3 separate regions of the Homo sapiens genome follow, and regions 2 and 3 are each linked to region 1. The links are contacts of gene promoters, found by promoter capture Hi-C in blood cells and fetal thymus (Javierre and others, 2016). All regions are on one chromosome and are shown on one strand. Each heading gives the region's core, a stretch centred on a gene start or on the middle of the fragment in contact. The rest is flanking DNA. Distances are from core to core; before and after follow the strand shown.

Evidence for each region. Contacts are between HindIII fragments. The CHiCAGO score rates a contact against its expected background, and 5 or more counts as called.
Region 2: a contact is called between a fragment that was not itself captured here and the fragment with the promoter of CADPS2 in region 1, in 1 of 17 cell types (endothelial precursors). The highest score is 5.1, in endothelial precursors.
Region 3: a contact is called between a fragment that was not itself captured here and the fragment with the promoter of CADPS2 in region 1, in 1 of 17 cell types (endothelial precursors). The highest score is 5.5, in endothelial precursors.

What each region holds. Positions count from the first base shown.
Region 1 is chr7:122,885,044-122,887,743 of GRCh38, reverse strand. It overlaps CADPS2 (calcium dependent secretion activator 2), which reads left to right and starts at 1,284. Exons shown (of 30, transcript NM_017954.11): 1 at 1,284-1,745. The coding sequence starts at 1,407. RefSeq lists silencers at 877-1,036, 1,047-1,206, 1,277-1,356, 1,367-1,416, 1,457-1,586 and an enhancer at 1,947-1,996. The HindIII fragment of the contact is 15,066 bases long and covers 1-2,700 here.
Region 2 is chr7:123,057,345-123,060,044 of GRCh38, reverse strand. No RefSeq gene overlaps it. Among named protein-coding and RNA genes, the nearest start is that of TAS2R16, 63 kb to the right of the region's middle. The HindIII fragment of the contact is 1,017 bases long and covers 908-1,924 here.
Region 3 is chr7:123,123,513-123,126,212 of GRCh38, reverse strand. SLC13A1 (solute carrier family 13 member 1) reads left to right here. Exons shown (of 15, transcript NM_022444.4): 11 at 538-644. Among named protein-coding and RNA genes, the nearest start is that of SLC13A1, 75 kb to the left of the region's middle. The HindIII fragment of the contact is 2,020 bases long and covers 242-2,261 here.

The DNA of each region.
Region 1 (2,700 bases), core at 35-2,534:
AAGCTAAAACTGCTGTTTGACCATGGTGGTAGAGGAGCTCAGAGCTGGTAGTTAATTTGCCCTGTGTTATTTCCACTGAACTTCATCACCTCCCTGCCCACCTGGTCGCTGCACACTCCACCTGGTGTTGAATGCATTGTTTTGCCTATTTCCCCCTCTGTCAGGACTTAGGACATAAGATACAGAATTACTATAAGAAACTCCTAGGTGGTTCCAGCACTAGGACTGAGAAATCTGCGCAGATAAGGCAGGCTTCAGCGCAGCTACAAGACGCCGACTTGAGGCCAGAACCACCAGCGACTGAGTGTCATGTGCCTTAGTCACCGCGGGCTCCGCAAAAGGCTAACAGTGCTGGACACCGGGAGGGCGCTCAAATCTTTGTTGAATAAATGTCCACACTACACAACCTGTTTTGAGTCAACTGCATCCCAACCCAGAAAATAATCGAGATATGTTTGAGCTGAATCAGTATCATTTTGCACATATAAAATCTCTCTTGCCTTGAGTCTGCAGGACTAGAACAGTTTAAAAAGTAAGCCTCGTTGGTTTTCTTTTTTTTTTCATTACTCCGACTTTTATAATTTGGGCTTCAGCATGAGTATCAAAACGGCAGCAGAGCAGAGTGAGACTTTTCAAAGTCTTGTCGCAAAGATACTTCGTGGTGAAGGGCTCCAGTCCCGCTTTTCCGCGCTGGGGTTCAATCCTAGGCAGCCGATTCGGGTTGGGGAGATGTCTCGGCCGCTCCCCCTAACCTCTTGCTAGGGAACAGTCCCTCCCCGCTCCCCATTCCACCTCCACCTGCTGGAGAAAAGATCACAGGTGGTAGGGTGAGGGTAGTCGGAGCAGCCCCGGTGGACGCTTACACGGGCCATCGCGCTCGGCCGCTCCCCGCCTTTGCAAACTGTGTGCTAGGGCTCCAGGCGGGCCCGGGCAGCAGCGGCGGCGCGCGCACGCGCACTCCGCGGCCCCGCGCGGCTCTTCAACATTCAATTCCACGTGTTGCTTGTTGTAGGCGCCACAGGTTCCCCACCTGCGTCCGGGCGCTCGGGCGGCTCCGCCTCTGCCGGCGGGCTCTGGGGAACCGCTGGGTCGGCGCGCCCGGGGCTGGCGGAGCAATTCCTGAGGCGCCCAAGCTCACCCCCAACGCTAACTCCGCCTATTCAGTCCCGGCGGCTCCCCCTCTCCCCCCTCCCAATCCTCCTCCCGGCTCCTGCCCGCCCCTTTCGCCCTGGTGGTAGGAAACACTCCTGAATCTAACTCGACGTGTCCGGAAAGCCCTGGCCAGTTTTCCTTTCGTTCTGCGGCCGCTGCAGCCAGCCCCGCGGCTCCCTCAGACCCGCGGGCGCAGCCGCCGGGGGTGAGGCGCTTGGGGACCGCGGGCCGAGCGGCGGGGATCCCCGAGCACCATGCTGGACCCGTCTTCCAGCGAAGAGGAGTCGGACGAGGGGCTGGAAGAGGAAAGCCGCGATGTGCTGGTGGCAGCCGGCAGCTCGCAGCGAGCTCCTCCAGCCCCGACTCGGGAAGGGCGGCGGGACGCGCCGGGGCGCGCGGGCGGCGGCGGCGCGGCCAGATCTGTGAGCCCGAGCCCCTCTGTGCTCAGCGAGGGGCGAGACGAGCCCCAGCGGCAGCTGGACGATGAGCAGGAGCGGAGGATCCGCCTGCAGCTCTACGTCTTCGTCGTGAGGTGCATCGCGTACCCCTTCAACGCCAAGCAGCCCACCGACATGGCCCGGAGGCAGCAGAAGGTGAGTTGCGGGACCGGGCGCCTCCTACCACCACTTCTCCCTGGGTTTTTCTCCCGGGAGAGCTCTGGGACGCCTCCCGTCCTTCTGCGAAACGCAGGACACCGTATTTTTGTTAGTCTCTGAGGGCAGAGGAATCTTTGGGGACAAGACGGTGCTTTCACCCGCCGGGTATGCGGCTGCAGCGGACACCTCTTCTCCTCCTCCCCGCCTGGGCTGGCAGGAGCTGTCAGCTCACCATCCGTGAGACAGAGACCGACAGCGCCGGCCGCGCCGCGGTTGCACCCGGCAGGCGCAGCTCTGGCCGGATTAGAATGCAACTCCCATCAACTTTAATTTCCAACAGCACTGGTGCATTCCTGTCCACCTAGCCTGGCGTGATATTGCTAGAGCTGGGTTTGCCGAGGGTCTGAATGAGTGTTGTAGCTAGGCGAAACAGGTGGAGCCCGAGTACTTCTCTTAGCTAGAGTGAAGTCTTCACTTAAGAGGGGTAGAAATTTTCCTCAGTGAATAAAAAAGTTAAATTAATACGTTTCCTATATTGTCATACAACCAGGACATCAAATCCAAACACCGAGAAGGCATGCAGCTTTGTAAAGTGTTTGTGGGTAAGTAATTTCTGGTCTGGGCAGGCCTGATTAATGAAATATACTATTACTGATGAAAGATAAAGGATTGGTGCATGATCACTTCATAACAAATGCTTTCCAAATGCTTTTTTGGGGAACAAAATGCTTATTCTCCCCCAAAAGGTAAGAAGTTTGTTTCAGGTGAAAGGCTGGCCAACTTGAGTTTCAAAACAAGACCCCAGGGGCCTGATGTTCTGTACCAGACACGAGTAATGACTCAAATTGTCCTAAGTGGTTAAATGTTTACAATACAAACTCTAGGAAATCTTTTTAATAGAATGCTGAACCTGGAAGGTTCTGTAGAAATCGGTAACAGTTCCCTCAGTTTG
Region 2 (2,700 bases), core at 167-2,666, 170 kb before region 1:
CACCAACTTTCCTCTTCAGAGCACATACTTTTAGTGCCTTGCACAATGTCTTTTCTGTTCTATATTACTTTTAGCAAAGGTTTTTCAATTTGATGTGTAATTCAGGATAGGCTTATGAACTTTTTTCACTCTTAGACTACATATGAATAGACTTCCAAAGATGTTATAATTAACAAATGGTATTTAAATGGCATTTTTCGATAGTAAAATAGAAGGCTATGATTAATAGCCATTACTGAAATGTCAAAATATGAAACACTGTCTCAAATTCTGTAGTCTATCATTAGCCCATTTGGAGGAAAAATGTATTCCTGATATGTTGCCTTTGTTTTACACATATTCCAAAGATTATTTGAAATTATATTAGTTTCAACTTTCTGTTTAAATGAACTTATCTCAGATTAGATTAAGTAAGATATCAGATGGCTGTTTGGAATGGGCTTTTGCCAAAACAGTGTCTATTTATCGTCCCTTTTAAATCAATCTAACTCAGTTGTGTCAACCGCAGGCATAAATTAGAGTCACCTGGGAAGGCTTAATTTTTTTTAATATTAATAGAGGAGGACCCTTGAAATTTTAACTGAATTGTGCTGGAGTGGGGCTTCTAAAAGGAGCCAAGGTTTGAACCACTGAGTCTTCCTAAAAGGGAAAATGGAAGAGTCAGGGGGAACTGTAGGATCAGGGGTATCTGTTTGTATATTAGTTGATACTGCTTTATTCAATCAAAGATTTAAGGCTGATTGTGCAAAAGTTCCTTATCTGCTTTCATGTATTTACTATTCATATATATTTTCCTAAATGTGATCTATCCAAGTTTTTGTAGGAACTTTATTTTTTAGCAGGCATATGGAGGAGATAAACTTGACAGAAAAACTAAGACTTTAGATGTGAACCTCACAGACAAGCTTCCTTACATATAGATACTTTAGACAATCAGCTCAAGACTTTACCCAGGAGGGTGTAAGGACTTGTAAAGGGTGACACGCCTCAGAAAACACGATGATTCTAAAATTGCAAGTGTGGAGAGGTTATATATAATCTTCTGCTGATGCAGAAAACAATAGAAAATCTTTGAAAATAAGAGTTCTTGACTGTGCCCATGGATGTGGAAAGCCTGGGGAGAAATAGCAAAACCCATACTCCCTATTTCCCAAAGTATTGAGTTCAGCGGCATTTTTCTCATCCGATTGACACATCTTTGGCAACATCCTTCACTCCTGGCATATAACAGGTGCTCTGCGAATATTTTGGGATTTGATTAGAAAAATGGCAATAATAAAATGCTGAGTCCATGAAGACAGAAGTCTTCTTTTGAGCCTCATATAAAAGCCCACTGATTTAAAATAATGAGGAAATAATTGATTTACCCTAATAAACTCAGTCATCTTTGTACCTAGATTTCATAAAACAGCCTTTTAGAAAGACCAGCATGACTGTTGTGCTAAATGCTAGTGTTGGGAAAGAATGGCTGATGTAAGATGCAGAGCTGGAAAAACTAGAGTTTCACTGTAATCACAATAAAACCTCAAAAATTCAACTTTATCACTGGAACTTAGCAGAGTAAGAGAAGTTTATATTTTGGTCGAAATACTCTGTGTAAAAGGTAGGGAAATACCAATATACATTTAAAAGATGTGGCTTAGATATCTAAATGGCTTAAATATCCCAGTGAATAAATTCTAGGCCTCAATTATTATAAAATTTTAATTATGGAAAACAACCCATTTTCTGATAAAGCTGAATAGATAAAATGATAGCCTTTTTTCTACATGAGATTAAGACTCATGGTCCTAGAACAGATACATACACTGAATGCCCTCACTAAAACCCACATTTAATTGCCACACTTTTTCCTATTACAGTTCTAGCAATGTATTGCACACAAGTCAATGTTTGCTGCTGACTCCTGGGGGCTTCTGAAGCTTGCATGCTGACTCTGTAATTAAAAGTCCATATGAGGAAGCAACTGTCAGCTCAAGGCTTACCTCCTACTGTTGGATGTCTGTCAACTCAAGGATTTATTTTTTTTAATATGAGAAAATGTCAGTTGCCATCTGAAATAATTTTTTGATGATTCAAGTAAACATTGAATTTCTGATGATTAAATAAGAAAAACATAAAAAATACACCAATGCTTTGAAAGCAACTCATTTTACATTTGGAAAATGATTTTACTTAGGAACTCAACATATATTATAAATGTTACTTATTCCCATTTTATAGATAAAAGAATACACACACATACACACACATAAATACATGCACATATGTATATTCTAGGTTTAGAATTTTTTAATTGAAGGACTTAGAAAAACTTGGGATTCTTTTATCACTACATCTGTTCTTGTAAGTACAAAAACATTCTTAGTAAGAAAATACCATGGAGTTTAGTTGCAAAGATGATATTTATTCATTGTGAACTTTAACACTTAATCAAACAACAGTATGCTTATCCTGACTACATGCCAAAATAGCAAGATAATATTTTTTGATTCCGAAAAAATAGCTAGTTGACATGAATATATGCACATGGTTGTATTTCTTTACTGAATTCATTCATGTAAGTTTTTAATATGCCTTATCTACATTTATAACAACCAATGCTATGATTTTGATGAGAACAGAGTAATGATAATAGCTCATTTCATTTCTGTTCTACCTGTCAACTAAAACTTCAGCTCCTGTAGATTTGCATCAATG
Region 3 (2,700 bases), core at 2-2,501, 240 kb before region 1:
AGCTTATAAACACAGAAGCAGGTGTGATATCTCAGAAAACAGATCAATTCCTTTTCACAATTTATAGAAGAGCTTTAGAGGAACACAGAAATATCACGCCTTGCCACAATTTAATAGAAGGATGTTATAAATCAATTATATGGGGCTTTCCATGCTCTAGCAATGTTTCAACTTCAAATCTTGATCAATATTATTAAATTAAATAATTCAAAGAAGAAATTGTTTAACAAATCTGTAAGCTTATCTAAAAGGGAAATTTGCCACTTTGGCCTAGTATGTCAGCATGTGTATACGTGGTATTGAAAATAAGAAGAGATATATGGGAACAATAAGACTATGGTCTGAGATTATTGTTTTTAGTGTTGTGTCATTTAATCGGGAATCCATATATTTTAGGGCAGATTATTGAGGATAAATAACCTACACCACCTACTACTGATAATAACCTATTACTGATATGTTATTAGCAAAATTGGTGTTTTAGCTCATTTAAGTTCTTGATGCTATTTTTAATACATGTATTTGTCCCTTTTACAGGTACCCTGGTTTTGCTACAGATTCAACTGTTGCTTTACTTATAGGGCTGCTATTCTTTCTTATCCCAGCTAAGACACTGACTAAAACTACACCTACAGGAGAAATTGGTTGAGTATCATTTATAATTCTGCATAAATTTAACAGAAGAGCAAAAATTACAAAATTCCATTGGTTTCGCTTGGCACCTAGAGCAGAAAGAAAGTCTATGCTGGCACAATCCCTGGCCTAGCATGCCCTATTTGCAAACTGCAATGCTGTCTTCAAGCCAGCACAGCTTCCACCTTCAAGAGAGATCGTCTTACTTTGCAGAAGTGAGAAGTAGATTTCCTTTTGTATCATGGCTAGGGCTCTGCTACAAGCGATACTATTTGACCCATGGTAAACTCACTTCAAAATTAATCTTACTATTGGCAAACAGAGGAAAAAGAACTTGGAAGACACTGCTTCATTATGATACCTTGGTAATAAATGCAGAGGATCTAAAAAGGTGATGAATTTCAAGAGAAAGAGTATTTACATTCTCAAAGTAGTTCTGGAACAAAAGCTAAATAAACCTCACATAGCCATATCCTAGGATCACAGCTGAAATAAAAGGGCCAGATGTGGTGGCTCACACCTGCAATCACAGCACTTTGGGAGACTGAGGCAGGAGGATCACTTGAGGCCAGTAGTTTGAAACAAGCCTTGGCAGCATGGTGAGACCCCAGCTCTATCAAAAAATTAAAAAAATTAGCCAGGTGTGGTGGCCAATCTGGAGGCCAACGCAGGAGGATCACTTGAGCCCAGGAGTTGGAGGCTGTAGTGAGCTATGATTGTGCCACTGCCCTGGGCAACAGAGGGAGACTCGGTCTCTAAAAATAATGATAGTAATAAAAATAAAGAAAAGGTATTCTGTGACAGCATTCATTGTATTTACAACACATGAACAAAGAAGTGTGCACATTTGCCTGAGCATACCATCCTCTCAACACACACACACACACACAGACACACACACTTTTTAAACACAAGATTCATCCATATCTTTGCTTTACAACACAGCATGTTTTGAGTAGTCAGATTCCTATCTTGTCAATGTGGGACAACTAATTTGTAATTGTCTGGAAATTAACTAGTAGACTTGTGGTTTTGTTTGTTTGTTCTTATGGGGATGGAACTGGGATTTATGTAGTTGTGTTGGCCCACTTGACTCTTGTCAGAATCTATAAATGACTAATGTATCAGATTTCCAGGACATATGTGACCAGCACAGCATAGAAACAAATGTACTTTGTTTTTCACTTGAGATTAGAATATCTCAATGTGTGTTAAGGAGGTGATGCAATATGGAGCATTGATTCCTATGGGACCCCAAGGACTCTGATCATTGCAGTCAAAGCCCTGAGGTCTGGCAGTGGCAAGTACTGAGGAATCCATGTTTGGCTTTAGCTTCCCTGGTTTCCACATCTGAATTCCCTCCCTTAGAAAGAGCCTTGCTCCTACCCACCTTTCTCTCTCCCCTCATTCTTCAAAACCTCTTCTCCCTGCTAAAGTCATTCATACAAGGCTTAAAAATGACAAATAATATATAAATATGTTAAATTTTAAATAAGAAGTACTTGTCAGAGATGTTTACATTTTAACAAGATATATGACCTTAAAGTAAGAAACCTGGTGACATAATTTCAGTTATCAGTGAGGATGGGTTTGGTTTGGATTTGGGGGAAGATGATAGGAAGGAAGCTTATTGGTAAACTTAAAATCTTACCATGTAGAAGGCTGCCTGTTATACACAAGTTAAATGGGCAGAATATGTCTCCAAATGAACTTCTTTATCAACAAAGCAATGGAGAGATCAGAAGCCAAATATAAAGAGAAATCTTTATGATAATCCTTTTATAAGCACTTTAAGAACCTCATAAATAATACTTTATTTAATCTGAATCTTGAATTATTTTTAAACTGAAATCTTGGTGAATCTATCATGATCCTCCTTATGACCTAAAAACTAATAAAATGTTCAAATATTAATGGATAATAATTAAAATGCTACAAGATGCTATTGGAACCAATGGAATATTATGGACATTTTGCATAGCAAAGAATATTATAGTCTAATGCACTGTGCTATTCACAGTTGGCAAAGATGTTAGTGGAATATAAATGAATGAGTGAGTGAATGAA